Regions from separate parts of the Homo sapiens genome. Here regions 2, 3, 4 and 5 are each linked to region 1. Evidence: promoter capture Hi-C in human tissues and cell types (Jung and others, 2019). All regions are on one chromosome and are shown on one strand. Each heading gives the region's core, a stretch centred on a gene start or on the middle of the fragment in contact. The rest is flanking DNA. Distances are from core to core; before and after follow the strand shown.

The links. The method cuts DNA at HindIII sites, captures the fragments that hold promoters and counts their contacts. A contact is called where the count stands out against the background at its distance.
Region 2: a fragment that was not itself captured here is called in contact with the fragment with the promoter of ZNF708 in region 1 in 1 of the 25 tissues and cell types used here (IMR-90 fibroblasts).
Region 3: a contact is called between a fragment that was not itself captured here and the fragment with the promoter of ZNF708 in region 1, in 1 of the 25 tissues and cell types used here (pancreas).
Region 4: a contact is called between a fragment that was not itself captured here and the fragment with the promoter of ZNF708 in region 1, in 1 of the 25 tissues and cell types used here (aorta).
Region 5: a fragment that was not itself captured here is called in contact with the fragment with the promoter of ZNF708 in region 1 in 1 of the 25 tissues and cell types used here (spleen).

What each region holds. Positions count from the first base shown.
Region 1 is chr19:21,324,652-21,330,745 of GRCh38, forward strand. ZNF708 (zinc finger protein 708) reads right to left here and starts at 4,759. Exons shown (of 4, transcript NM_021269.3): 1 at 4,559-4,759. The coding sequence starts at 4,561. RefSeq lists enhancers at 2,702-3,223, 4,312-4,511, 4,552-4,731, 4,616-5,604 and a silencer at 4,851-5,072. The HindIII fragment of the contact is 12,621 bases long and covers 1-6,094 here.
Region 2 is chr19:21,093,577-21,099,410 of GRCh38, forward strand. ZNF714 (zinc finger protein 714) reads left to right here. Exons shown (of 5, transcript NM_182515.4): 3 at 4,609-4,735; 4 at 5,236-5,334. The coding sequence starts at 4,693. Among named protein-coding and RNA genes, the nearest start is that of ZNF714, 14 kb to the left of the region's middle. The HindIII fragment of the contact is 7,827 bases long and covers 1-5,834 here.
Region 3 is chr19:21,550,934-21,556,175 of GRCh38, forward strand. No RefSeq gene overlaps it. Among named protein-coding and RNA genes, the nearest start is that of ZNF429, 48 kb to the left of the region's middle. RefSeq lists an enhancer at 445-1,226. The HindIII fragment of the contact is 4,940 bases long and covers 539-5,242 here.
Region 4 is chr19:21,568,286-21,574,342 of GRCh38, forward strand. LOC101929007 (a long non-coding RNA gene) reads right to left here. Exons shown (of 4, transcript XR_007067176.1): 4 at 1,617-3,254. LOC124904670 (a long non-coding RNA gene) reads right to left here and starts at 971. Exons shown (of 2, transcript XR_007067182.1): 1 at 1-971. The HindIII fragment of the contact is 3,893 bases long and covers 2,723-6,057 here.
Region 5 is chr19:21,114,907-21,120,753 of GRCh38, forward strand. ZNF714 (zinc finger protein 714) reads left to right here. Exons shown (of 5, transcript NM_182515.4): 5 at 1,901-5,847. The coding sequence ends at 3,426. Among named protein-coding and RNA genes, the nearest start is that of ZNF431, 24 kb to the right of the region's middle. The HindIII fragment of the contact is 5,159 bases long and covers 1,538-5,847 here.

The DNA of each region.
Region 1 (6,094 bases), core at 3,509-6,008:
CTCAATAAGAAAAGCAAAAGTGTCCATTCCTTTCAAACAATAAATGCATTATTTTATTATTTCCATTAAAAGTCATATAGTAAACAATTAGTCATATGGAAACATGTCTAGGAGGTACCAAGTTTCAAATAAAATTTAGCTTAAAACTAGGAAATCAAGATAACAGGATTTGAACAGAGATATTCACTGTCACAAATTTACCCTGCAAAAAGAGGAGCTGATGCTTTCATGAATCTATGTAACTCAGCAATTATCTACCACATTTTCTTGTGAAAATGTACTCATTTTCTACAGCCAAAATGGGAAAGACATTTCCCCTATTCTTTTTCTTGGTAGCATTCTTAAACAGCCTTGAAATTTTATTGGAAATTACCAAGCCATAAAAAATACACCTGACACTGATGAAAGAAATCATAGATGGCACAAACAAATGGAAACAAATCCCACGCTCATGGATAAGTAGAATCAATATTGTGAAAATGACCATACTGCCAAAAGCAATCTACAAATTCAGTGCAATCCTTATCAAAATACCACCATAATTCTTCACAGAATTAAAAAAAATTCTAAAATTCATGTGGAACAAAAAAGAGCCTGCGTAGCCAAAACAAGGCTAAGCAAAAAGAACAAATCTGGAGGCATAACATTACCTGATTTCAAACTACACTATAAGGCCATAGTCACCAAAACAGCATGTTACTGGTTTAAAAATAGGCACATAGACCAATGGAACAGAATAGAGAACCCAGAAATAAACCCAAATACTTACAGCCAACTGATCTTCAGCAAAGCAAACAAAAACATAAAGTGGGGAAAGGACACCCTTTTCTACAAATGGTACTGGGATAATTGGCTAGCCATATGTAGGAGAATGAAACTGGATCCTCATCTCTCATCTTATACAAAAATCAACTCAAGATGGATTAAGGACTTAAACCTAAGATCGGAAACTATAAAAATTATAAAACATAACATTGGAAAAACCCTTCTAGACATTAGATTAGGCAAGGATTTCATGACCAAGAACTCAAAAGCAAATGCAATAAAAACAAAGATAAATATCAGGGACCTAATTAAATTAAATAGTTTTTACACGGCAAAAAGAACAGTCAGCAGAGTAAACAGACAACACATAGAGTGAGAAAAAATCTTCACAATCTATACGTCTGACAAAGGACTAATATCTAGAGTCTACAACAAACCCAAACAAATCAGTACAAAACAAACAATCCCATCAAAAAGTGGACTAAGGATATGAATAAACAATTCTCAAAAGAAGGTATACAAATGGCCAACAAACATATGAAAAAATCCTCAACATCACTAATGATCAGGGAAATGCAAATCAAAACCACAATGCGATACCACCTTACTCCTGCAAGAATGGCCATGATCAAAAAATCAAGAAACAGTAGATGTTGGCATGGACGTGGTGAACAGGGAACACTTCTACATTGCTGGTGGGAATGTAAACTAGAAAAGCCACTATGGAAAACACTGTGGAGATTCCTTAAAGAACTAAAAGTAGGATTACCATTTGATCCAGCAATCCCACAATTGGGTATCTACCCAGAGGAAAAGAAGTCATTATTCGAAAAATATACTTGCACACGCATGTTCATAGTGGCACATTTCACAATAGCAAAATCATGGAACCAACCCAAATCCTCATCAATCAATGAATGGATAAAGAAACTGTGGTATATATATACAATGGAATACTACACAGCCATAAAAAATGAATTAACAGCATTTGCAGTAACCTGGATGAGACTAGAGACTATTATTCTAAGCAAAGTATCTCAGGAGTTGAAAACCAAACATGGTATGTTCTGTTATGTGGGAGCTAAGCTATAAGGATGCAAAGGCATAAGAATGATACAATGGACTTTGGGGATTTGAGGGGAAGAGTGGAAGGGGGACGAGGGATAAAAGACTACAAATTTGGTGCAGTGTATAATGCTCTGGTGATGGGTGCACCAAAATCTCATAAAATAGGCTGGGCGCGGTGGCTCATGCCTATAATCCCAACACTTTGGGAGGCCATGGCGGGTGGATCACTTGAGATCAGGAATTTGAGACCAGCCTGGCCAACATGGAGAAACCCCGTTCTCTACAAAAAATACAAAAATTAGCTGGGCATGGTGGCACGCCCACCTGTAATTCTAGCTACCCGGGAGGCTGAGGCAGAAGAATTGCTTGAACCCGGGAGGCAGAGGTTGCAGTGAGCCAAGATTGTGCCATTGCACTCCAGCCTGGGCAACAAGAGCAAGAGTCCATATTAAATATAAATATAAATACATATATATTTGATTATATATATATTCACAAAAAATACATCTGAGAAAATTCCTAAACTTACTCTAAGAAAGGAAAACTTAAATGAGAATTTCTCACAAATAAAATACATGATTAATATTAATTTTTTCTGAAATCCACCTCTTTTATGCCCTCTGTTAATATTTTCTTACCTTCCAAGTCCTATTAATAAAATGCAATTTACAGTTAAATAATGGAAGTCAACATAAGTGAACAAATCTTTTCAAGGTGACAAACCCAGGGAGTGGTAGTGCTAATTAGAAAACAGATGTGTCTAGACCGGGCGCGGTGGCTCACGCCTGTATTCCCAGCACTTTGGGAGGCCGAGGCGGGCGGATCACCTGAGGTCTGGAGTTTGAGACCAGCCTGACCAACATGGAGAAACCCCATCTCTACTAAAAATACAAAAACATTAGCTGGGTGTGGTGGCACATGCCTGTAATCCCAGCTACTCGGGTGGCTGAGGCAGGAGAATCGCTTGAACCTGGGAGGCGGAGGTTGCGGTGACCCGAGATCGTGCCATTGCACTCCAGCCTGGGCAACAAGAGTGAAACTCCACCTCAAAAAAAAAAAAAAAGAAAAGAAAGAAAACAGATGTGTCTGACTGATATTCACCCACCCCATTCTGCTCACCTTAAGTGCTCAATAACCACCCTCTCAGGAGACATTACACTATGCCCCAGGTGCATTTTACTTTGTAAGTTCTTGCACCATCTCACTTGGGTCAGGTTTTTCTTTGTCTTTTGGGATACTTTTTTTTTTCCACAAAATTTAGAGAATTCAGGGGGCAGAAATTATTTCTGTGTTTTCCCCTCAATACCAGCATCTGATTGGCTGACCAGCACTGTGTCTCCAAGAAATGGAAGCTGGGTTGGGTGAAGACAATCTTAATGTCTCAAGGGGTTAGCTTTTCAAAGGAAGAGTATGCCAGGAGATGCCTCTCAGCCCCAGGGCATCCACCTGCTCCCTTGAGAAGCTACACTCCATACCTCAGGTTGTCCTCAGGGAGAAAAATGACCCAGGAGCTGATATTCACTAGACACTCTAGCAGAAAAAGTCATGATGTGTATCTTGGTTTACTCCAGACAGTACTGAAACCCAGGACCAGGAAAAAACTGAAGGGTGGCTGAAGACACATCACTCCGTAAAGTTTCCAAAGAAAAACCTTCACCTGAAAACAAACATTCTGATAAGATTTCTGTGCCTGAGGAAGATAAAAAAAAAAAAGCCATAGAAATTTCATAAAATACAGTGTCAGGGAATTATTTTTTGCTTTCTTCTCATGAGAAATATTTTCAACCAGAAAACAATTTTAAGTGCCATCCAATGCTTTGTCAAAAAATGATTAACTAAAATACAGTATCAAAAATGTACACTAAAGGAAAAACAGTTGAGAATGTGAATTAGGAAAGGCAAGCTGGCATTTGGAAATGTCAGAAGGAACTAGAAATTTAGTATTTTAGTTTATTTGCAGTTTAAATCTAACTGCAGGCCAGAGTTAGGCTGGAGGAATGGGGCTGGGAGGTACACTTGAGACCCCGCTTGGAACGCATGTGAAAAATGCAGGGGAAAATCAGTCCCCTGTGGAGTGTGAGAATAATTAAGTGGCAGGCAATTACACTGAGGAGGCTCTAGTCCCCGGCTTTCTACTTAACAGCAACAGCTACGTAAATGTACCTAACCGATTATTAAATATAGTTTTCTTCATCATGCACCTTATAAAAAGTCTTTCCTTCAAGCTCCTCCCATGAACCACAAACTACAAAACATACTTTTGTGCTCTACAATTATTGAATCACTCTTTGATTAAATTCTTTAATATTTTTTGCGATGACTGCCACAGATTTTTAATAGGAGAAAATAGGAACCGGGAACCCCACAGACCAAAGCTCTTCCCATTCATGAACCCGACCCCAAGTCAGGATTCTCCCCTGACCACCCTCCCATGGTCCCTGCACAATCTGGGAGAGGCGCGGCGCTGCCGGTGCAGAGCCGCCCAGAGAGGGCTGCAGGCCAGGGCACAGTCACTGCGCAGGGAAGAGACAGGACGCCCGGGGGCCCGGCTGTCGGCGCAGCCGCCATCTTATGGCTGAAGGGGACTGAGGCCGAGCTAGGCAAGGAGAACTCGGAGCGCAGATTGTGGAGATGACTGCGGGGAGTCCTGAGTCCCGCCACAGCCACTTCCCACAGGTTTCAACCAGCCCTTCCCCTCTCTCGGGATGTCGGACGGCACTCTCACCATTTCTAGGCTTCCAGAGGGTCCTGGAGTCTTAGCTGTGGATCTCCCAATACCTGCAGGTCACAGAGCCACAGAGTCTGGGCCTCTAGGAGCAGAGGACAAACAGCAGTGAAGACGAGACCGGAGCTCCGGCTGCAGCAAGAGACAAAGGCCGCGCCAAACCCGGAAGCCGCCCTGTCCGGTCCAGCTGCGTGTCTGAGTGAACTGTCCCCAGCTCAGAGTCCCTGATTGGATAATGTTAAAACCCGCCCCTTCAGGCCCTGAGGGACGGAAGATGTGATCAGATGCTGGGCTGAATGAAGTGTGACAGCCTATGCTGCAGCCTTTTCAGGCAAGGCTTCCTCCCTGAGCTGAGCCAGGCCCACCCGAGAGGGTGTTTGCCTTTAATCTTGTGTATAAGGTCATATGCCCTTATAAATAATATGCTATATGGCTATTCACAAATGAAAAGAATATAATAACCCAATTGTTCTAAAAAAAATTTTTTTTTTGAGATTGAGTTTCACTCTTGTTGCCCAGGCTGGAGTGCAATGGCGCGATCTTGGCTCATCGCAACCTCCACCTCGCGGGTTCAAGCGATTCTCCTGCCTCAGCCTCCCGCGTAGCTGAGATTACAGGCATGCGCCACCATGCCCGGCTAATTTTTTTGTATTTTTAGTAGAGACGGGGTTTCTCCATGTTGGTCAGGCTGGTCTCAAACTCCAGACCTCAGGTGATCCTCCCGCCTCGGCCTCCCAAAATGCTGGGATTACAGGCATGAGCCACTGCGCCCGGCCCAACTGTTCTAAAATTTTATATTTTGTGACCTTCCTGACTTCTGGTCCTTTGAGCAGGCAGCCTGAGATTTTAAAAAGGAGGCAATTCTCTGAAATAAAATGTGAGCCACAAGTTGGGCGCTGTACCTCACGCCTGTAATCCCAGTACTTCGGGAGGCCGAAGAGGGTGGATCATCTGAGGTTCAGAGTTCGAGATCAGTCTGGCCAACATGGTGAAACCCCGTCTCTAAAACAATACAAAAAAATTAGCTGGGCATGGTGGCAGGCGCCTGTAATCCCAGCTACTTGGGAGGCTGGGGCAGGAGAATCGCTTGATCCTGGGCGGTGGAGGTTGCAGTGAGACGAGATCACGCCACTGCACTCCAGTATGGACAACAAGAGTGAAACTCTGTCTCAAAAAAAATAAATAAATAAAATAAAATCATAAAATGTGAGCCACATGTAAATTTTAAATTTTCTAGTAGCCAAACTTTATTTTATATTTTTATTTTTTTAGACGGAGTCTCACATTGTTGCCTGGGCTGGAGTGCAATGGCGCGATTTCTGCTCACTGCAACCTCTGCCTCCCGGGTTCAAGCGATTCTCCTGCCTCAGCCTCCCAAGTAGCTGAGATAAAAGGCGCTGGCCACCATGCCCGGCTAATTTGTAGCCAAACTTTAAAAAGAGTTTAGCTCTATTTTTAAAAAGAAACAAAGAACAGGTGAAATTGATTGTAACAATTTAACCCAATATATCGAAAATATTGTCATTTTAATATGTG
Region 2 (5,834 bases), core at 779-3,278, 230 kb before region 1:
TCTTCCATCATGTTTACATACCATACTTTGTTTTTATTAAATCTTCTATTTTATTTAATTAATTAATTTTATTTGGAGACAGTGTTTCACTCTGTTGCAAAGGCTGAAGTGCAGTGGTGCAATCTTGGCTCACTTCAGCCTCAACCTTCCAGGCTCAAGGCACCCTCTTCAGCCCCCTAAGTAACTGGGACTACAAGCATGCACCACCATACCCAGTTAACTTCTTTTTCTATCGTTTGTAGAGATGGGGTTTTGTCATGTTGCCCAGGCTGGTCTTGAACTGTTGAGCTAAGGTAATCCACCTGCCTCGGCCTCCCAAAGTGCCGGGATTACAAGTGTGAACCACCTCACCTGACCATACCTTATTATTTTAATCTAGTCTACATTAATAGGCAATTAGATTTGTTCCATGTTTTTGTTTTTTGTTTGTTTGAGACGGAGTCTCACTCTGTTGCCCAGACCAGAGTGCAGTGGCACCATCTCAGCTCACTGCAACCTCTGTCTCCTGGGTTCAAACGATTCTCCTGCCTCAGTTTCCTATGTAGCTGGGACTACAGGCACATGTAACCACACCTGGCTAAATTTTGTATTTTTAGTAGAGATGGTGTTTTGCCATATTGGCTAGGCTAGCCTCGAACTCCTGACCTCAGGTGATCCACCAGCCTCAGCCTCCCAAAGTGCTGGGATTACTGGCATGAGCCACTGAGCCCAGCCCATGTCTTTGTTATTGCAAACAGTGTTGTAATAAACATGCATATGCATGTGTCTTTATGGTAGAATAGTTTATATTTCTTTGGATATATACTCAATTTGGAGGTTGCTGGGTCAAACAGTAATTCTGTTTTCAGTTCTGTGAGGAATCACCACACTGCTTTTCACAATGGTTGAACTAATTTACCCTCCCACCAGCAGTGTATAAACATTCCATTTTCTCTGCAACCTTACCAGCATGTTACTGACTTTGGTTTTTGAGACAGTCTCACTCTGTCACCCAGGCTGGAGTACAGTGGTGTGATCTCAGCTCATTGCAACCTCCACCTCCTTGATTCAATAGATTCTCATGCCTTAGTTTCTGGAGTAGCTGGAACTACAGATGTGTGCCACCAAGCCTGACTAATTTTTGTATTTTTAGTAAAGATAGGATTTCTCCATATTGGCCAGGCTGCTCTCAAACTCATGACCTCAAGTGATCTGCCTGCCTTGACCTCCCAAAGTGCTGGGGTTACCGCACCCAGCCTGTTACTTTCTAACAACAGCCATTCTGAATGGTGTGAGATGGTGTCTCATTGTGGTTTTTGTTAGTTTGTTTTTGGCATTTCTGTAGTGATTAGTGGTGAGCATTTTTTGCACATGCTTGTTAGCCACATGTTTGTCTTCTTTTGAAAAGCATCTGTTCATGTTTTTTTGCCTACTTTTTAATGAAGTTTTTTTTTCTGTAAACCTGCCTAACTTCTTTATGAATTCTGGGTATTAAACCTTTGTCAGGAACATAGTTTGCAAATATTTTTGTTTATTTGGTATGTTGTCTGTTTACTCCATTGATAGTTTCCTTTGCTATGAAGAAGCTCTTTAATTAGGTCCCTGTTGGGAAAAAGCTGGGTGTTGGGAGGGAAACTGAGGCAGGCCTTGCATAATGTCCTCTGGAATGTGTCTAGACCTGCTGGCTCCTTGCTTCTAGCTTTCCTAGGTTCCTATTCCCATTATCTCAAGTAGCAGAACATGTTCCTTATAATGCTAAACCATCACAGCTGTAGATCATGCGCCTGCTCTTTTGACCTCCACGTTCTCACCACCTGTTTCTTTGTTGGATTATCAGTAAATACCGTGGGCTCCCAGAGCTCAGGGCCTTCACAGCCTCCATAATGGTGATGGCCCCCTGGTGTTCCATCTTTTATTTTTTTTTTGAGACAGAGTCTCGCTCTGTCACCCAGGCTGGAGTGCAGTGGTGTGATCTCAGCTCACTGCAAGCTCCGTGTCCCGGGTTCACGCCATTCTCCTGCCTCAGCCTCCCGAGTAGCTGGGACTACAGGCGCCCGCCACGACACCCAGCTAATTTTTTTTTTGTATTTTTAGTAGAGATGGGGCTTCACTGTGGTCTCGATCTCCTGACCTCATGATCCGCCCGCCTCAGCCTCCCAAAGTGCTGGGATTACAGGCGTGAGCCACCGCGCCTAGCCTGGTGTCCCACCTTTATATCTCAAACTGTCTTTTTTCTCAATCCTTTGACTCCACCGGACTTTGTCACCCCCACGACCTGATGTTGGGTCTGATCACCCCAAGAGGTCCCATTTGTCAATTTTTGCTTTTGTTGCAGTTGCTTTTGGTATCTTCATCATGATACATGTAGATACGTGTGGTAAGACAGTGAAACTCCAGGGCCTCATATGACTCTATGGTGAGGCCAGAATCAAGTATGAAGGCTTCAAGATACATTCCTGAGAGTTAAGTGCCACATTTGCACTAAAGGGTGGCTTCAGGACCTGTTCTGTTTGGGTTTGGTAGGGACAGGGCAGTGGCCCATATTTTCATATTTTCATTACTGTAGTAGAAATTGTTGGTGTCTGTGGCAGGGGAGGGCACCTGTGGACGGTAAAAGAGGAACATATATTTTTATTTCCGTGGAGCAACTCATTGTTCCTGAATCTCTTCTGTTATAAAGGAGAAAGATGAGTGGACTTTTTGGTCTTGGTCCTTCTGTCTGTGAGTGTGAGGCTAGTAGGTAAGCAGGTGGTGCTGATGCCTTTAAGGGACTTGTCTCAAGATGCAGGTGTTACTTGTCCAGAGAATTTTATCTGAAAAGGATTTCTAGAGGAGGAGAAAGAGGAAAAATGCTTCTTTTCAGCTAAACATATCTCAGATCAAGAGCTGTGTCCACTCTGCCTCCTGGAGTGCCATGAGTTTAGTACTTGCAAACCTTTACTTCTCTACTTCTGTTTTCCCTCCCCAATGATTTTGTTTCACATACTTTTAAAAATTCTTGTGATAGTCAAGGATCTCTAAAAAATATTTCTATCCTATGTACGAGAGCCTTCTCTACATCATGGCTTCTTATATGCAATGCAGAATTCCTACCATGAATTTATGATCTGCCATATTAAAAGTGTTCCTTTTGTGGCTGCTGAACATGGGAAGATGTGGATACTCAAGATTCCTATTGGGGGAAAGCTGGGGTCCTTAGTAAAGATGGAGAACATATAATGTTGAGGTGTCGCTTGTGTTCTCCATTAGCTCTATGCAGAACAGGATTAAGAATATGCTTATTTAAACAGGATGGCATTTATTTATTTATTTATTTATTTTTATTGTTTGAGACAGAGTCTCGCTCTGTTGCCCAGGCTAGAGTGCAGTGGCGCAATCTCAGCTCACTGCAAGCTCCGCCTCCTGGGTTCATGCTTTTCTCCTGCTTCAACCTCCCAAGTAGCTGGGACTACAGGCGCCCACCACCACACCCGGCTAATTTTTTGTATTTTTAATAGAGACGGGGTTTCACTGTGTTAGCCAGGATGGTCTTGATCTCCTGACATCATGATCCGCCTGCCTCAGCCTCCCAAAGTGCTGGGATTACAGGTGTGAGCCACCACGCCCGGCCTGTTCAGGATAGCATTTATTACCCAGGAAGTTCTGGAGAAAATTATTCAGAGATACCTGCTTTCTAGGATGCTAAAGAAAGGACTACTTAAAATCATTACTAAAAATTATAGAACATGGGAGATATCTTGACCTTCGCATGAAACTGATTTTTTCTTTATGGTTAAATTCAGTCTATAATTGACTTTTTGAGGGGCAATATCTCAGCAGTGATGTTGTGTTCTTCTTTGTGCATCAGCACATCATAAAAATTTATTCTAGTGTTGTTGATGTTAATAATTTGCTTGGTTAAAGAGCTCTCTGACTTTTTTTCACTATAGAGTTAATTGTTTTTCTCTTTATTGTTAAGTATCTTTATGTAGCTAATAAACTATCACATTTAATCTGGCACCTGCCCTTTTTTCTTAGGTTTTTTTGTTTGTTTTTTGCACATATGTGTCTTTGGAAAATGAAGGCTCTTATCTTTGTTTACAGACCAAAAAAGTTGGGAAAAACACAATCTCTTTCACTTACTGAATGTCTGACAAAATAGTCTTCTGGGGTCAAAAACATTGGCATTGCTAGTAACCTTGTTAGAATTTTAAAAACTCAGACTTTATTCCAGATCTTCTGGGGAAAAAAAAAAAAAGCTTCACAACAGGATCTCCAGTTTATTGTACATATTTAAATTTGAGAGGTACCATCTAACTCAACATGTCTTTTTTTGTCTGAAAAATATACACAACTCATTATGATGTAAATATAGCACTCAAAAATGTATACGTTTGTGTCCTTAATTATATTCTTTATCATCCAGAAAAGTATTATATATGCACTGGTGTTGTGGATCTTATGCCATTCTCTGCCCTCAGAGTAATACATTAGAGAATATTTCTGTGTTAAAAATTATTGGATAATTTCAGTTATTCTTATAAGTCAACCAATTCTCTTTACTCTCTCATTTCACCTTAATTCAAATAATAAATTCTGCCCATGGCCACTTGGTAAATATACGTGTGTCTGTGCGTATGTGTTTTTCAGGAGACGTTGACATTTAGGGATGTGGCCATAGAATTCTCTCTGGAGGAGTGGGAATGCCTGAACCCTGCTCAGCAGAATTTATATATGAATGTGATGTTAGAGAACTACAAAAACCTGGTCTTCTTGGGTGAGAATAACTTTAATACATAAGTCTTAATATACCCTAAACGTTTTATGTCTCTTTTTTTGTAGAATTTTCTTTGGTAATTTATGCTTTGTATAAATGAGTTTCTGATCCCAGTTTTCAAGAAAATCTTGATGATTTGTCTCTGTAGAAAAGAATTTCTTCAACATGTTTCATCCTGACCTGAACTTTCCACATTCCTGAGCTGATCTGCATCCTTCACTCTAGATTAGTGGTAATTCCAGAAATTTGGTGGCATAAAATATTGCCCGTATCTTAAAATCTATTTTCCACTGTCAATTTTTGATTCATGAGTACCAGGTAGTGAAATTAAGGACCTACAAATTTAAAATATTTTCTAAATAGTTAGAGATGTGTCTCATTAATTAGTATTTTAGGATTAATTTTCTAAAATATTCTATTATATCCTTTTTACTGAGCACAGTACTAGGTTGGTAACTAGAGAATATAAGCAAGATTTATGCTATTTACTTTTAATAAAGCAGGTATTGCTGTCTCTAAGCAAGACCCGATCACCAGTCTAGAGCAAGAAAAAGAGCCCTGGAATATGAAGATATGTGAGATGGTGGATGAATCCCCAGGTAGGTGAGAGTGAACACAACAGATGACACAGATGAGAGGTACAAAGGTAAAAAAAAAAAAAAAGCAAGCCGGCCCTTACAATGTGATTTGGGAAGCTGTTTTGCAAAGTATATAGTTTCTGGGAAGACTGAATATTTTCTTAAAATTTTCTCTCACTAAAGGGCATCTTCTGTCTTATGCTTTTAAATTCTCTAAGAATTTTCCTTTTCCTTGGGTGAACACACAAATATCTGCATAATTTTGAAAAACACTGTTTTTTTTTGTTTTGTTTTGTTTTGTTTTTTGAGACAGAGTTTCGCTTTGGTTGCCCAGGCTGGATTGCAGTAGCGTGATCTCAACTCACTGCAACCTGTGCCTTTTGGGTTCGACGATTTTCCTGCCTCAGTCTCCTGGGTAGCTGAGATTACAGGCGCCTGCCACCACACCCAGCTAATTGTTTTGTATTTTTAGTAGAGACGGGTTTTTACCATGTTGGCCAGGCTGGTCTTGTACTCCTGTC
Region 3 (5,242 bases), core at 1,759-4,258, 220 kb after region 1:
GTGGACACAGCACATGTTTCAGAGAGCACAGGGTTGGCGGTAAGGTCATAGATCAACAGGATCCCAAGGCAGAAGAATTTTTCTTAGTACAGAACAAAATGAAAAGTCTTCCATGTCTATTTCTTTCTACACAGACACAACAACCATCCGATTTCTCAATCTTTTCCCCACCTTTCCCCCTTTTCTATTCCACAAAACCGCCATTGTCATCATGACCCGTTCTCAATGAGCTGTTGGGTACACATCCCAGATGGGGTGGTGGCCGGGCAGAGGGGCTCCTCACTTCCCAGAAGGGGCGACCGGGCAGAGGCGCCCCCCACCTCCCGGACGGGGTGGCTGGCCGGGCGGGGGCTGACCCCCCACCTCCCTCCCGGACGGGGCGGCTGGCTGGGCGGGGGCTGGCCCCCCACCTCCCTCCCGGAAGGGGTGGCTGGCCGGGCGGGGGCTGGCCCCCCACCTCCCTCCCGGATGGGGCGGCTGGCCGGGCGGGGGCTGACCCCCACCTCCCTCCCGGATGGGGTGGCTGCCAGGCAGAGACGCTCCTCACTTCCCAGACGGGGTGGCTGCCGGGCGGAGGGGCTCCTCACTTCTCAGACGGGGCGGCTGCTGGGCGGAGGGGCTCCTCACTTCTCAGACGGGGCGGCCAGGCAGAGACGCTCCTCACCTCCCAGACGGGGTCGTGGCCGGGCAGAGGCGCTCCTCACATCCCAGATGGGGCGGCGGGGCAGAGGCGCTCCCCACATCTCAGACGATGGGCGGCCGGGCAGAGACGCTCCTCACTTCCTAGATGGGATGGCAGCCGGGAAGAGGCGTTCCTCACTTCCCAGGCTGGGCAGCCAGGCAGAGGGGCTCCTCACATCCCAGACGATGGGTGGCCAGGAAGAGACGCTCCTCACTTCCCAGAAGGGGTGGCGGCCGGGCAGAGGCTGCAATCTCGGCACTTTGGGAGGCCAAGGCAGGCAGCTGGGAGGTGGAGGTTGTAGCGAGCCGAGATCATGCCACTGCACTCCAGCCTGGGCACCATTGAGCACTGAGTGAACGAGACTCCGTCTGCAATCCCGGCACCTCGGGGGGCTGAGGCTGGTGGATCACTCGCGGTTAGGAGCTGGAGACCAGCCCAGCCAACACAGCGAAACCCCGTATCCACCAAAAAAAATACGAAAACCAGTCAGGCACGGCGGCGTGCGCCTGCAATCGCAGGCACTCGTATTTCTGCCTTAATTTTATTATTTACCCAGTAGTCATTCAGCAGCAGATTGTTCAATTTCCATGTAGTTGTGCAGTTTGGAGTGAATTTCTTAATCCTGAGTTCTAATTTGATTGCACTGTCATCTGATAGACTGTTTGTTATGATTTCAGTTCTTTTGCATTTGCTGAGGAGTGTTTTACTTCCAATTATGTGGTTGATTTCAGAATAAGTGCTATGTGGCACTGAGAAGAATGTATATTCTGTTGATTTGGGGTGGAGAGTTCTGGAGATGTCTATTAGGTTCGTTTGGTCCAGAGCTGAGTTGAAGTCCTGAATATCCTTGCTAATTTTCGGTCTTGTTATCTGTCTAATATTGACACTGGGGTGTTAAAGTCTCCCACTATTATTGTGTGGGCATCTAAGTTTCTTTGTAAGTTACTAAGAACTTGTTTTATCAATCTGGGGGCTCCTGTATTGGCTGCATATATATTAAGGATAGTTAGCTCTTCTTGTTGCATTGATCCCTTTACCATTATGTAATGCCCTTCTTTGTCTTTTTTGATCTTTGTTGGTTTAAAGTCTGTTTTATCAGAGACTAGGACTGCAATCCCTGCTTTTTTTTTTTTCTTTCCGTTTGCTTGGTAAGTAAATATTCCTCCATCCCTTTATTTTGAGCCTATGTGTCTCTCTGCATGTGAGATAGGTCTCCTGCATACAGCACAGTCTTGACCCTTTATCCAATTTGCCAGTCTGTGTCTTTTAATTGGGGCATTTAGCCTATTTACATATAAAATTAATATTGTTATGCGTGAATTTGATCCTGTCATCATGATGCTAACTGGTTATATTGCACATTAGTTGATGCAGTTTCTTCATAGTGTCATTGGACTTTATAGTTCGATGTGTTTTTGCAGTGGCTGGTACTGGTTTTTCCTTTCCATATTTAGTGCTTCCTTCAGGACCTCTTCTAAGGGAGGCCTGGTGGTGACAAAATCCCTCAGCATTTGCTCGTCTGTAAAGGATTTTCTTTCTCCTTTGCATACGAAGCTTAGTTTGGCTGGATATGAAATTCTGGGTTGAAAATTCTTTTGCTTTTTTTTTTTTTTTTTTTTTTGAGATGGAGTCTCGCTCTGTTGCCCAGGCTGGAGTGCAGTGGCATGATCTTGGCTCACTGCAACCCCTGCCTGTCAGGTTCAAGTGATTATCCTGCCTCAGCCTCCAGAATAGGTGGGATTATAGGTGCCTGCCACCATGCCTGGCTGATTTTTGTATTTTTAGTAGAGATAGGATTTCACCATGTTGGCCAGGTTGGTCTTGAACTCCCAATCTCAGGTGATCCACCCTCCTTGGCCTCCCAAAGTGCTGGGATTACAGGCGTGAGCCCAAAAACCGGGCGTGGTGGCGTGCACCTGTAATTTCAGCTACTCGTGAAGCTGAGGCAGGAGAATCGCTTGAACCCAGGAGTTGGAGGTTATGGTGAGCCAAGATCGTGCCATTGCACCCCAGCCTGAGCAATAATCAAAACTCTGTCTCAAACAAACAAAAAAGAATATTGAATATTGGCTCCTACTCTCTTCTGTCTTTTAGTGTTTCTACAGAGTGTTCTGCTGTTAGTCTGATAGACTTCCCTTTGTAGGTAACCTGGCCTTTCTCTCTGGCTGCCCTTAACATTTTTTCCTTCATTTCAACCTTGGAGAATCTGATGATTTTGTGTCTTGGGGTTGCTCTTCTCGAGGAGTGTCTTAGTGGTGTTCTTTTTATTTCCTGAATTTGAACGTTGGCTTGTCTTTCTAGGTTGGGGAACTTCTGGATAATATCCACATCACTTTCAGGTACACCAATCAATCATAGGTTTGGTTTTTTTACATACTCCCATCTTTCTTGGAGGCTTTGTTCATTCCTTTTTGTTATTTTTTCTCTAATGTTGTCTTCACGACTTATTCTATTGAGTTAATCTCCAGTCTCATATCCTTTCTTTCGCGTGATTGATTTGGCTATTGATACTTGTGTATGCTTCGCAGAGTTCTCATGCTGTGTTTTTCAGCTCCATCAGGTCATTTATGTTCCTGTCTAAACTGATTATTCTAGTTAGCAATTCCTCTAACCTTTTGTCAAGGTTCTTAGCTTCCTTGCATTGAGTTAGAGCATGCTCCTTTAGCTCAGAGGAGTTTGTTATTACCCACCTTTTGAAGCCTACTTCTGTCAATTCGTCAATCTCATTCTCCGTCCAGTTTTTGTTTGTTTGTTTTTTTGAGACAGAGTCTCGCTCTGTCGCCCAGGCTGGATTGCAGTGGTGCAGTCTTGGCTTACTGCATCCTCTGCCACCTGGGTTCAAGCAATTCTCCTGCCTCAGCCTCCCAATTAACTGGGATTACAGGCACCTGCCACCATACCCAGCTAATTTTTGTATTTTAGTAGAGACAGGGTTTTACCATCTTGGTCAGGCTGGTCTTGAACTCCTGACCTCAAGTGATCCACCTGCCTCAGCCTTGGCCTCCCAAAGTTCTGGGATTACAGGCTTAAGCCACTGCACCCAGCCTGCTCCATCCAGTTTTGTGCCCTTGCTGGAGAGGGGTTGTGATCATTTGAAGGAGAAGAGGCATTCTCATTTTTTGAATTTTCAGTGTTTTTGCACTGGTTTTTACTCATCTTCATGGACTTATCTACCTTTGATCTTTGAGGCTGATGACATTGGATGGGGTTTTTGTGTGGTGGTCCTTTATGTTGATGTTGATGTTGTTGCTTTCTGTTTGTTAGTTTTTCTTCTAACAGGCCTCTCTTCCGCAGGTCTGTTGCAGCTTGCTAGAGGTCCACTCCAGACCCTGTTCACCTGGGAATCACAAATAGAGGCTGTAGAATGGCAAAAATTGCTTCCTGCTCCTTCCTCTGGAAGCTTCATCACAGAGGGGCACCAGCCTGATGCCAACCGGAGCTCTCCTGTATGAGGTTTCTATCGACCCCTGTTGGGAAGTCTCTCCCAGTCAGGAGGCACAGGGGTCAGGGACCAACGTGAGGAGGCAGTCTGTCCCTTAGCAGAGCTGACGTGCTGTGCTGGGAGAATCCCTCTTGTCAGGGTCACCTGCTCTCTTCAGAGCCAGCAGTCAGGAAGGATTAAATCTATGGAAGCTGTGCCCACAGCAACCCCTTCCCCCAGGTGCTCTGTCCCAGGGAGATGGGGATTTTGTCTGTAAGCCCCTGACTGGGGCTGTCTCCTTTCCATCCGAGATGCCCTGCCCAGCGAGGAGGAATCTAGAGAAGCAGTCTGGCCATATTTTGGCAGCCCACAAATCCTCCCAGCCTCCTTAGCACTAGAAAACTGCCTACTAAAGCCTCAGTAATGGGGGATGCCCCTCCCCCCACCAAGCTCGATCATCCCAACTCAACTTCAGACTGCTGTGCTGTCAGTGAGAATTTCAAGCCAGTGGTTCTTAGCTTGCTGAGCTTCATGGGATTGGGACCTGCTGAGCGAGACCACGTGGCTCCCTGGCTTCAGCCCCTTTCTAGGGGAGTAAAGGGTTCTGTCTTGCTGGGGTTCCAGATGCCACTGTGGTACAAAACAAACAAACAACAACAACAAAGCAAAACTCCTGCAGCTAGCTTGGTGTCTGCCCAAATAGCCACCCAGTTTTGTGCTTGAAACCCAGGGCTGTGCTGGTGTAGGCACACCAGGGAATCCCCTGATCTGCAGATTGCAAAAATCATGGGGAAAGGATAGTAACCTGGCCGGGTAGCACAGTTCCTCACGGCTTCCCTTGGCTGGGGGAGGGAGGTCCCCCAGCTCCTTGCACTTCGTGGGTGAAGCGATGCCCCACCCTGCTTCTGCTCGCCCTCCATGGGTTGTACCCACTGCCTAACCAGTCCCAGTTGGATGAACTGGGTACCTCAGTTGGAAATGCAGAAATCACCTGTCTTCTGCATGGGTCTCGCTGGGAGCTGCAGACTGGAAATGTTTATTTGGCCCTCTTGACCCTGTCCCCCAAATCATCTTTTATTTTTATTTCATCCAAATAGCTGCTATCTTTTTTTTGTACATCTTTGCCTAAATTATAATAA
Region 4 (6,057 bases), core at 3,419-5,918, 240 kb after region 1:
TTTCTCCCCATGTGATAGTCTGAAATATGGCCTCGTGGGAAGGGAAAGACCTGACCGCCCCCCAGCCCGACACCCATGAAGGGTCTGTGCTGAGGAGGATTAGTATAAGAGGAAGGCATGCCTCTTGCAGTTGAGACAAGAGGAAGGCATCTGTCTCCTCCCTGTCCCTGGGCAATGGAATGTCTCGGTATAAAACCTGATTGTACGTTCCATCGACTGAGATAGGAAAAAACCACCTTAGGGCTGGAGGTGGGACATGTGGGCAGCAATACTGCTTTGTAAAGCATTGAGATGTTTATGTGTATGCACATCTAAAAGCACAGCACTTGATTCTTTACCTTGTCTATGATGCAAAGACCTTTGTTCATGTGTTTGTCTGCTGACCCTCTCCCCACTATTGTCTTGTGACCCTGACACATCCCCCTCTTGGAGAAACACCCATGAATGATCAATAACTACTAAGGGAACTCAGAGGCTGGTGGAATCCTCCATATGCTGAACGCTGGTTCCCTGGGTCCCCTTATTTCTTTCTCTATACTTTGTCTCTGTGTCTTTCTCTTTTCCAAGTCTCTCCTTCCACCTAACGAGAAACACCCACAGGTGTGGAGGGGCAACCCACACCTTCAGCCCAGGGTCCTGCTGTCAGCGCAGCCACCATGCTATGGCTGAAGAGGACTGAGGCTGAGTTGGCCAAGGAGAACTCGGGGCGCAGACTGTGGAGCTGACTGACGGGAGACCCGAGTCCCACCACAGCCACTTGCCACCAGTTCCAATCAACTCCTTCCCTTTTCTCAGGATGTCGGACCCGGCACTCTCACCATTTCTAGGCTTCCAGGGGGTCCTGGCATCTTAGCTGTGGATCTCCCAATACCTGCAGGTCACAAAGTCACGGAGACTGGGCCTCTGAAGACTAGACGTAGAACTCCAGCTGCAGCCGGAGACAAAGGCCCCCATATTCCGGAAGCTGTCTTGCCCGCTCCAGCTGCGTGGCTGATTGGAGGGTTTCCAGCCCAGTGTTGCTGATTGGATAACGCTTAAATCCCCGCCTCCTCACATCGTGATTGACAGAAGATGTGACCAAACGCTAGGCTGAATGAAGAAAGAGTGACTGCCTAAGCTGCCGCCCGCTCAGAAAGGGCTTCGTCCCTGAGCTGAGCCAGGCCCACCCTAGAGGGTGTTTGCATGTAATCTTGTGTATAAGGTTATATGCATTTATAAATATTATACTGTATGGCTATTCACAAATGAAAAGAATATAATAATAATGATTTTGAAATTTCAGGTTTTATAACCTTCCTGGCTTTGAGAAGGCAGCATGAGATTTTTTGTCTTTGTTTTTGTTTTTTGAGACGGAGTCGCTCTGTTGACCAGGCTGGAGTGCAGTGACGCGATCTCGGCTGACTGAAAGCTCCGCCTCCCGAGTTCACGCCATTCTCCTGCTTCAGTCCCCTAAGTAGCTGGGACTACAGGCGCCTGCCACCATGCCTGGCTAATTTTTTGTATTTTTCGTAGAGACACGTTTCACCGTGTTAGCCAGGATGGCTCGATCTCCTGACCTCGTGATACGCCCACCTCGGCCTCCCAAAGTGTTGAGATTACAAGCGTGAGACACTGCATCCGTCTGTTGTAACAATTTAATTAAAGCAATATATCCAAAATATTATTTTAATATGTGAGCAATGTATAATTATGAATGAGATATATATTTATATATAACATAATTATGTATCTATATATTGCATTATGCTATGTATTTTTATCCATATTATATATAGATATTTTTATCTATATGTTGTATATTTTTATATTTATGGAACTAAATCTTTGAAACTAACTCTGCATTTTACCTTTCTTGCAAATTGCAGCTCAGACCAGCCACATTCCAGGCTCCCAGGAGTCACACATGGTCAATACCTGTCACATTGAAGTGCAGCTCTGTTGTCAGGTCTGTGAAAGGCCTGAATATCCCTTTTCTTCCTGTTAGGAATAACGCTCAAAATCATAAGGAAATTGAACACTCGAACAAAGGATTCCTAGCAAAGCAATTTTAGTTCTGCACAGAGGGGTGCGTTCTTGTCCAGTCACCATGAGAGCACACCTGAACAAAGGGGCACAAGAGCCTTTATTCCTGACACAAGTCCTGCCCCTGTACCCTTTCCCCATTGGCCAGGGTCGGGTCGTACAATCTGAACTAATCCTGGTTGGCTAAACATTTGATTTTTTTAGATAAGGTGGGCATGCAAAAGAATGCAGAGAGGAAGGGGAAGGGGTGTCTGCATTGAGCTAGAAAGTTAGTCCTCTTTCCAAATAAGGGAAGAAATGTGAGCTGGTACTGATAATGCCTGGTACTGTGGCGTGCCTGGGCATCTAACAAAGGCAGAAAGGAAAAAGGAGAAAAAGGAAAAAAAGGGGTGTGTGTGTGGGTACTATGAATTAAAGAATAAAAGATTGATCAGGCTATTTGAAGAGAAACCTCATCGTATCCCACATGCCCGACATGAGGGAACAGCCTCTTTCTACTAACATCTGTCTTCAGTTTCAAGGGTGGAACAGATAGTGGTCATAGAAAGAGCAGAAGGTAACAAGAATAAAATAACCACAGGTAGACCACTGAAGAATGATGGGGCCACAGGAGAACAAAACTCTATGTCTTCAGACCTGTCCACAGTATTGACCTCCAATTTTTAGATATGAAGAAAATAGATTAAAGGCAAACTTTGGCTATTTGGCCTTGGCCATAATGGTCAGGCTCTGGTCATCGGTTTTTTCCTGTGGTGTGGGGGACTGTGTGCATATAAGCACCAATCACATGCATACATGTCTACAAGTATTCCTGCATCAGTCAACATTGCCTTACAAGACATTTAACTTTAAATCGGGAAAAATGTCAGTACCTTTAGGGTGCCCATTGTTAGAAGGTGACTAATAATCAAACTGTCTTTAAATCTTGACACCCAATCTGCACTGGGTGCATGTATTAGTTAGGTATGGCAGCATAACAAATCATCCAAAACTTATTAGCTCATAATTGAGATGGTCCGCCATTTAGGCTAGGCTCAGTGGGGCCATTCTTCTGTTCCCAGCTGAGCTCCTTCAGACATGTATTGTCAGCTGTTTGTTGACTAGGCAGCTGTGCTTCTGGGAGTGAGCTTGTGCTTCAAGATCTGTCAACAGGGGCACCTTGCTACTCCTCCTCGTGGTATTTTATCCTCTAGGTGGCTAACATGGACTTTATTGATGGAGACAGCAGCATTCTGAAAGAAAAGCAGAAGCATTCAACACCATTTGAGCCCAGGCCCCAAACTAGCCCACTGTCATGTTCACAAGTATCTAGTGCCTTGAACAAATAAGGCCAGCCAGATCTAGGGTTGGGAAAACAGATTCTGTATCTCAATGGGAACAGCTGTAAGAGCACCTGCCAATAGGCATGGATAGGAGGGATGAAAAATTGCTACCATTTTTGCAATCAATATCATTATGCCTTTTTTGCATATGTGGTTTATACAACTCTTTCGCATCAAGAAACTTGTCCAAAGACTCACAGCTACTAAATGGCTGGCCTGAGACTCAGTACCAACTCTTCTGACTCTAAAGCCCATGCATCAAACTCTTGGCTGCTGTAGATCCTTGAAATCCTGGAGAGAGATGCTGCTACAGTAAAAGCCAGATTTTTAAAAAATGTATGCCCATATAGCACTATTTATGATTGGGAATAATCCTTTCAAGAAATTGCAGAAGCACAGGGTGCCTCACACCTGTAATCCTAGCATTTTGGGAGGCTGAGATGAAAGAATCACTTGAGTTCAGGAGTTTACGTGCAACCTGGGCAACATAGTAAGATCCTGTGTCCGTGAAAAAAAATTTAAAAATTGGCCAGTCATGATGTTGCATGTCTGTCGTCTCAGCTCTTCGGGTGGCTGAGGCAGGAGGATTGGTTGAGCCTGAAGTGTTAAGGTTGCTGTGAGACATGATTGGTTGCACCACTACACTCCACCCAGAGTGATACAGAGAGACACTGTCTCAAAAAAATTGCAGAAGCATTTGAATGGACATATAATAATTTTGAAAAATAGCTGAGGAATGAGTTTAGAAAAATCAAAGCCCAAGAACACATTATTTATTTTCATCATAGAAAAAAGAAAAAGAAACTTTAGAGAAATTAAATTTATCAGAGTTTAATTGAGAAAAGAATGATTTGCAAATTGGGTAGCCTGTGTAGGCTCAGAGAGTCTCCAGCATAGCCACATGGTGGTAAAAAATTTATGAACAGAAAAGGCAAATTGACATGCGGAAAATGGAAGCCAGGTACCGAAACAGTCAGATTGATTACAGCTTGGGAGTTGCCTTATGGTTTGAACAGTTGACGTCATTTTACTGGCCAAAACACATTGATTGGTACAAGAATGGGTACAGTCTATTTACATATCCAGGTAGGTTTCAGTTTAGTATTTTAAATAAAAACGACCAAAATTAAACGTGAAAGGGGGCAGCTTTATGGTGTAATTAATTTAATAATTTGTCCTTTTGGTCATCTTAATTTTGAGAGATAGACCAAAACTTTAGACATTGGCCGGGCGTGATGGCTCATGGCTGTTATCCTAGCATTTTGGAAGGCCGAGGTGGGTGGATCACTTGAGGTCAGGAGTTTGAGACCAGCTTGACCAACATGGTGAAACCCCGTCTCTATTAAAAATACAAACCAATTAGCCAGGCCTGTTGGTGAGTGCCTGTAATCCCAGCTACTCAGGAGACTGAGGCAGGAGAATTTCTTGAACCCGGGAGGAAGAGGTTGCAGTGGGCTGAGATCGCGACACTGCACTCCAGCATGGGCAACAGAGCGAGACTCCATCTAAAAAAAAAAAAAAAACTTGGATATTGATATTACTCTCTCACTATAAAAGAAGTACTTATTTAGTCTGAAATCCCACTGTGAAATAGCATAACTGTGGATTTTTTAAAGTAGAAACAAGGACTTCAGGTTATTATTATTTTATTATTATTATTTATTTTTAAAAGAGTAGAGGGAAACTCCTTGTGTTGAAATGTGCTGTTTACCAAAACAAACAGACAAACAAACCTCATCTGTTTTAGGATGTACCTATTTTCTTTTTTCTTTCTTTTTGTTTTTGAGATTGAGTTTCACTATTGTTGCCCAGGCTGGAGTGCAATGGCGCCATCTCAGCTCACTGCAACCTCCACCTCCCGAGTTCAAGCAATCCTCCTGTCTCAGCCTCCCAAGTAGCTGGGATTACAGGCATGTGCCACCACGCCCGCCTAATTTTGTATTTTTAGTAGAGATGGGGTTTCACTATGTTGGTCAGGTTGGTCTTGAACTCCAGGCGTCAGGTGATCCACCCACCTCAGCCTCCCAAAGTGCTGGGATTACAGGCATGAGCCACTGTGCCCAGCCCTACCTATTTTCTGAAATTTTCAATTTGATTATGTCACATTTAGCATGAGTGACTTACTTTTTTTGTTTTGTTTTTCTGTTTGAACCTAGTGCAGAAGTTAAGAATGATGGCCTCCGATAAATTTGTTTAAAAAATTCTCCCATTTTGGCAAAGTTCTCACATAGATCAGAGTGTAAAAAACTCACGATCTTAGTGCCACTGTCAATTTCCATTATTTTTGGGTTTTGTCCATATTATGTCATTCATAGGTTATGGTGTCTCCATAGTCACATATGTCTCAATTGTTGTCATTCTAGTTAAAGAGAGACCATTTGTCATTCTAGAGATGACTCATGCATGATAACATTTAAAACTTTTGAGCTGAGGTGGAAGGATTACTTGAGCCCGGGGGTGGAGGTTGCAGTGAGCTGAGATCACACCCCTGCATTCTAGCCTGGCTGACAGAGTGAGACCCTGTCTCTAAAATGCAATGCAACGCAACGCAACGCAACGCAACGCAACGCAATGCAATGCATAAAATAGCCTCAACCATGTTCCAACAATTACTTTCTTTTTTCTTCTCCAACAATAACCATAACCTTTTTTTTTTTTTTTTGAGACAGAGTCTTGCTCTGTCACCCAGGCTGGAGTGCAGTGGCGCAATGTC
Region 5 (5,847 bases), core at 2,867-5,366, 210 kb before region 1:
AGACTTAGTAGTGTTATTTTATTGTTTTATTTGATTCTTGTATCTTTGTTCCTCATTTTCTCTTTTTCTGTCTCTGTGTCTTTTTTATACTTATCTTGATATGCTTTTACTTCTTTCTTATTTTGTTTTGTGTATCTATTCAGATATATTCTTGGTGGTATATTAGGAATTACATAATACCTCTAAAAGATAAAACAGTGTATTTTAATCTGGTAAAAAATGAACTTCAGCTGGATTCATAAATTTTTTCTCATTATATCTGCCCTCAAATTTGTCATTGATGTTGCTAATCATATATTTTATGTTGTATATCATTAACAAATGTTTATAATGATTTCTATTCTTTTACCTTTCAAATTTTAGAGAATAATTAAAAATGTTTTTTGTGCCATTATTATAATGCTAAGAAATTCCATTTTTGTGTATGTGCATGTTTCCCTAGAAAATAATGTATTTATATGATAAAATTATTATTTATAAAATTACTTTATTTAATCGTATTATTTTCAGTAGAAGCAACTGCTTTCAGCATCTTTTATGTTTAGGGCATATGAAGTGCCAATATTTTTTTTCAGAATTTGGTTATTTTTGAAGGTTTTTTTCTTTTTATTGGGCAGGACTGGTATTATTCTCACTTGATAGCTATTTTTTTTTAGGACTTTGGCTATATCACAGTTTCCTTCTGGCCTGCAAAGCTTTTGTTGACAGTTCACTGACTATCTTATAAGACTGTGCTTGTAAATGACATGCCATTTTTATCTTGCAGCTCCATTCTCTTCTTGTCTGTGGTTTTTGAAATTGTGCTTATATATGTGTTTGTTATAAATATCTTTGTGTGTATCCTAATTGTTTGTTGAGCTTCTTCATTTTGACAATATTTTTTCTTTCAGAATTTTTGAGTTATATTTTCTTTTGATATTTTTTACCTTTACAATTTCTGTTTTTTGGATATTTTAAATATTTTTTTCTTATCAGTTTTTTCTGGTTTTCTATAGTTCTCTGTATTCCTATTTTACTCATTGAGTATTCAATTTATTTTTAATTTTTAAAATTAATATATACATCTTTTTTATGGTTTCTTTCTGAAAATTTTATAATATTTTTGATAGAACCATTTTGCCCTATTTTGTATTCATTGTAATCTTTGATTAAAATTTAGACATTAAATAAAGCTACCTGACACAGTTTTTATCTTGTAGCTTTCTCCTGGCATAGTCTGAAAACAATTATCTTGGTTAGAGATCCTGGTAGACTCTCAAACATGTTCTTAGAATGTATCTTGTCTAAAATTTTGTGTTTACTTTTTAGTTAAAGGAGTTTATTTCTGCTTCATCTTAATCAGTAACCATTTGCTCTGTTTTCTGTCTGTTGTACTGCAGTCTCTCTGCTGCTGTAACAATTACCTTTGGTCTCAAGACCCAAACTATAACTCCAAAATATACCACCATTTTTTTCAGCACTTTATGTTACGGGAGACCAGTTTCTGGAAAGGCCCCTAGAAGCAAGTAATATAGATGTATGTGCCAGTATTTTACTTGTTTATTAAAAAAGAAACCAAAAGTTAGCAATTTACTTTGAAAGGCAGTATGTTATATTGTTGAGTAGGAAGAACTGTGTTGGGCAAAGGTAATGGACTTTTCTTTTTCTTCTGTGTCTTTGCATTCCTGTGTACTCATCTGTGTACTCACCTGGGGAACTTTACATGCTTATTTATAAGTTTTCCTTATGTATTTTGGTCAGTATGCTTTTATTACATTTATATGTCTATGAAGGATTTAGGGCCTGTGGTATTTTATTATGGCATCTTGCTTATGTAGTTTGTATAATATAGGTTAGATTTGTAAAGTATGTTTATCAGAGTCTAGTAAGTTGAATAATTTGTTGTTTGTATTTCTTTCAGCTATGTGTTCTTCTTTTACCAGAGACCTTTGGCCAGAGCAAGACATAAAAGATTCTTTTCAACAAGTGATACTGAGAAGACATGGCAAATGTGAACATGAGAATTTACAGTTAAGAAAAGGCTCCGCAAATGTGGTTGAGTGTAAGGTGTACAAAAAAGGTTATAATGAACTAAACCAGTGTTTGACAACTACCCAGAGCAAAATATTTCCATGTGATAAATATATAAAAGTCTTTCATAAAATTTTCAATTCAAATAGACACAAGACAAGACATACTGGAGAGAAACCTTTCAAATGTAAAAAATGTGATGAATCATTTTGCATGCTTTTACACCTACATCAACATAAAAGAATTCATATTAGAGAGAATTCTTACCAATGTGAAGAATGTGACAAAGTGTTTAAGCGGTTCTCAACCCTTACTAGACACAAGAGAGTTCATACTGGAGAGAAACCCTTCAAATGTGAAGAATGTGGCAAAGCTTTTAAGCACTCCTCAACCCTTACTACACATAAGATGATTCATACTGGAGAGAAACCCTACAGATGTGAAGAATGTGGCAAAGCCTTCTACCATTCTTCACACCTTACTACACATAAGGTAATTCATACTGGAGAGAAGCCCTTCAAATGTGAAGAATGTGGTAAAGCTTTTAACCACCCTTCAGCCCTTACTACACATAAGTTCATTCATGTTAAAGAAAAACCCTACAAATGTGAAGAATGTGACAAAGCTTTTAACCGATTCTCATACCTTACTAAACATAAGATAATTCATTCTGGAGAGAAATCTTACAAATGTGAACAATGTGGCAAAGGCTTTAACTGGTCTTCAACCCTTACAAAACATAAAAGAATTCATACTGGAGAGAAACCCTACAAATGTGAAGAATGTGGCAAAGCCTTTAATGTGTCTTCACACCTTACTACACATAAGATGATTCATACTGGAGAGAAACCCTACAAATGTGAAGAATGTGGCAAAGCCTTTAACCACTCCTCAAAACTTACTATACATAAGATAATTCATACTGGAGAGAAACCTTACAAATGTGAAGAATGTGGCAAAGCTTTTAACCAATCCTCAAACCTTACCAAACATAAGATAATTCATACTGGAGAGAAACTCTACAAATGTGAAGAATGTGGCAAAGCTTTTAACCGATCCTCAAACCTTACTACACATAAGAGAATTCACACTGGAGAGAAACCCTACAAATGTGAAGAATGTGGCAAAGCTTTCAACCGATCCTCAAACCTTACTAAACATAACATAATTCATACTGGAGAGAAATCTTACAAATGTGAAGAATGTGGTAAAGCCTTTAACCAATCCTCAACTCTTACTAAACATAGGAAAATTCAGCAGGGCATGGTGGCTCATGCCTGTAATCCCAACACTTTGAGAGGACTAGGTGAGCAGATCGCGAGGTCAGGAGTTCAAGACCAGCCTGGCCAACATGGTAAAACCCCATCTCTACTAAAAATACAAAAATTTGCTGGGTGTGGTGGCAGGCGCCTGTAATCCCAGCTACTTGGGAGGCAGAGGCAGGAGAATCATTTGAACCTGGGAGGCAGAGGTTGCAGTGAGCCAAGATCGCGCCATTCTACTCCAGCCTGGGCCACAAGGCAAGACTCTGTCTCAAAAAAAAAAAAAAAAAGAAAAGAAAATTCATACTGGAACGAAACCCTACAATTGTGAAGAATGTGCCAGTGCTTTCAACCAGTCCTCGAACCTTTTTAAGAAAATAATTTATACTGGAGAGAAATTCTACAAATGTGAAGAATATGGCAAAGCCTTTAACCAGTCTTCAACTCTTACTAGGCATTAAAAATTCATACTGTACAGAAACCCTACGAGGGTGAAAAACATGGCAAAGCCTTTAACAAGCCCTCAATTCTTAACAGACATAACATAATTCATACTGGAAAGAAACTCTGCAAACCAGAAAGATCTGGCAATGCTTTTGACAACACCTCAAACTTTTCTAACCATAAAAGAAATTATACTGGTGAGAAATCTTAGAAATCTGAAGAATGAGACAAAGCCTTTAAATGGTTGTCACACTTGATTGTAGGTAAGATAATTCATACTGGAGAAAACACCTACATGTGTGAACAATGTGGCAAAACTTAACCAGTGCTCACACCTTATTGCACAGGAAAGCATTTGTACTTGAGATAAATTATACAAATATAAAGACTGAAAAAGCCATTAATATATGTTCATATCTCAACACCAGATAGTTCATACTTAATAAAAGCATTATAAGTACAATTACTGTCAAAAGACCTTTCAGAAAATACAAGCTTTTGACCAGGCGTGGTGGCTCAGGCCTATAATCCCAGCACTTTGGTAGGCCAAGGCAGGTGGATCATGAGGTCAGGAGTTTGAGACCAGCCTATCCAAGATGGTGAAACCCCATCTCTACTAAAAATACAACAATTAGCCGGTTGCGGTGGTGGTGCCTGTAATCCCAGCTACTCAAGAGGCTGAGGCAGGAGAATCACTTGAACTTGGGGAGGGAGAGGTTGCAGTGAGCTGAGATTGCACTCTAGCCTGGGCCACAGAGCAAGACTCCATCTAAAAAGTAAAAAAAAAAGAAAATATGAACTTTACAGTGAAGAATATTTATTTTGAAGATGAATGTTACAAATATAAAGTGGGTAGTAGTGCCTTTACTTGTATCACAGATCTTATTGTAGACATTTTTTGTAGAGGAAAAACTCTGAAGCACTTTCACACTTTGTTCAATATCAGGGAATTTATATTGAAGAAAAATCATGCAAATGTAGTAAATTTGGAAAAACACTTTTTCAAAAACTACAGCTTAGAAAACAGAGTTCATACTAGAATATATTTTTGCAGATGCAGTAAAAGTTAAAAAAAATTTAATCCATAAGTAAGTCTGTGTAAATATCAGAATTTATGGTAGAAATACATAAGGCACTGACAACATCAGATATACTAAATCAGAGGGCTGAGTATAGAAAATTAAAGTTGGTAGAAAAATTATTTGTATATAACTTTAAGAGGATCAGAAGGTTTTTTGCAGTTATAATTACATTCAAAGTATACTTTATTTCTTGAAAAATATTACAGATTTTTTGAAAAGTGAATAATGATGTCATTCAACTCTGAAATTCCTGCCGTTTCTTCATTCCTATTGGATTCACATGTGAAAGCATGGGATCAATTATTGCTGTATCAAAGATATGAAAGATTCTTTCTTTGTTTTGTTCTGTTTTTTTGAGATGGAGTTTTGCTCTTTCGTCCAGGCTGGAGCACAGTGGCATGATCTCGGCTCACTGCAACCTTCAATTTCCAGTTTCAAGCGATTCTCCTCCCTCAGCCTCCTGAGTAGCTGGGATTACAGGCGCATATCACCACGCCCAGCTAATTTTTATGTTTCTAGTACAGACAGGATTTCATCATGTTGGCCAGGCTGGTCTCAAACTCCTCACCTTGTGATCCACCCACCTTGGCCTCCAAAGGTGCTGGGATTACACAGGCATGAGCCACTGCTCCTGGCAAGAGATTCTTTTTTATTAGGTGGGCATTATTTGTGATCTTTTCTATTGAAAAGTAAAAACATTAGAATGTAAGATGCATAATGAAAATGTAAGTGGAGAGGTTCTTTGGGGTTAACTTATAATATTGAGTGGTGCATGAGGTTGGTGTTCAGAGTAATATTCTGCATTATGAAAAAACATTTAATTTTATTTAAAATTTAGTTTATCATACTAATTGTACTTTTATATAAGATGCAGTACATTTTTAAAATTTTAGATTGTGTGAAGTTAATAGTTTAACATTTTTAACATGTTAAATACTATTGTGCATTCAATGAAGCATTATTATACCACAAACTTTACCCTGTTCCACCTTACTGAAGGGTATAGGTAAAAGATGGTAACGATATACTATTTAGTAACATAATGGATT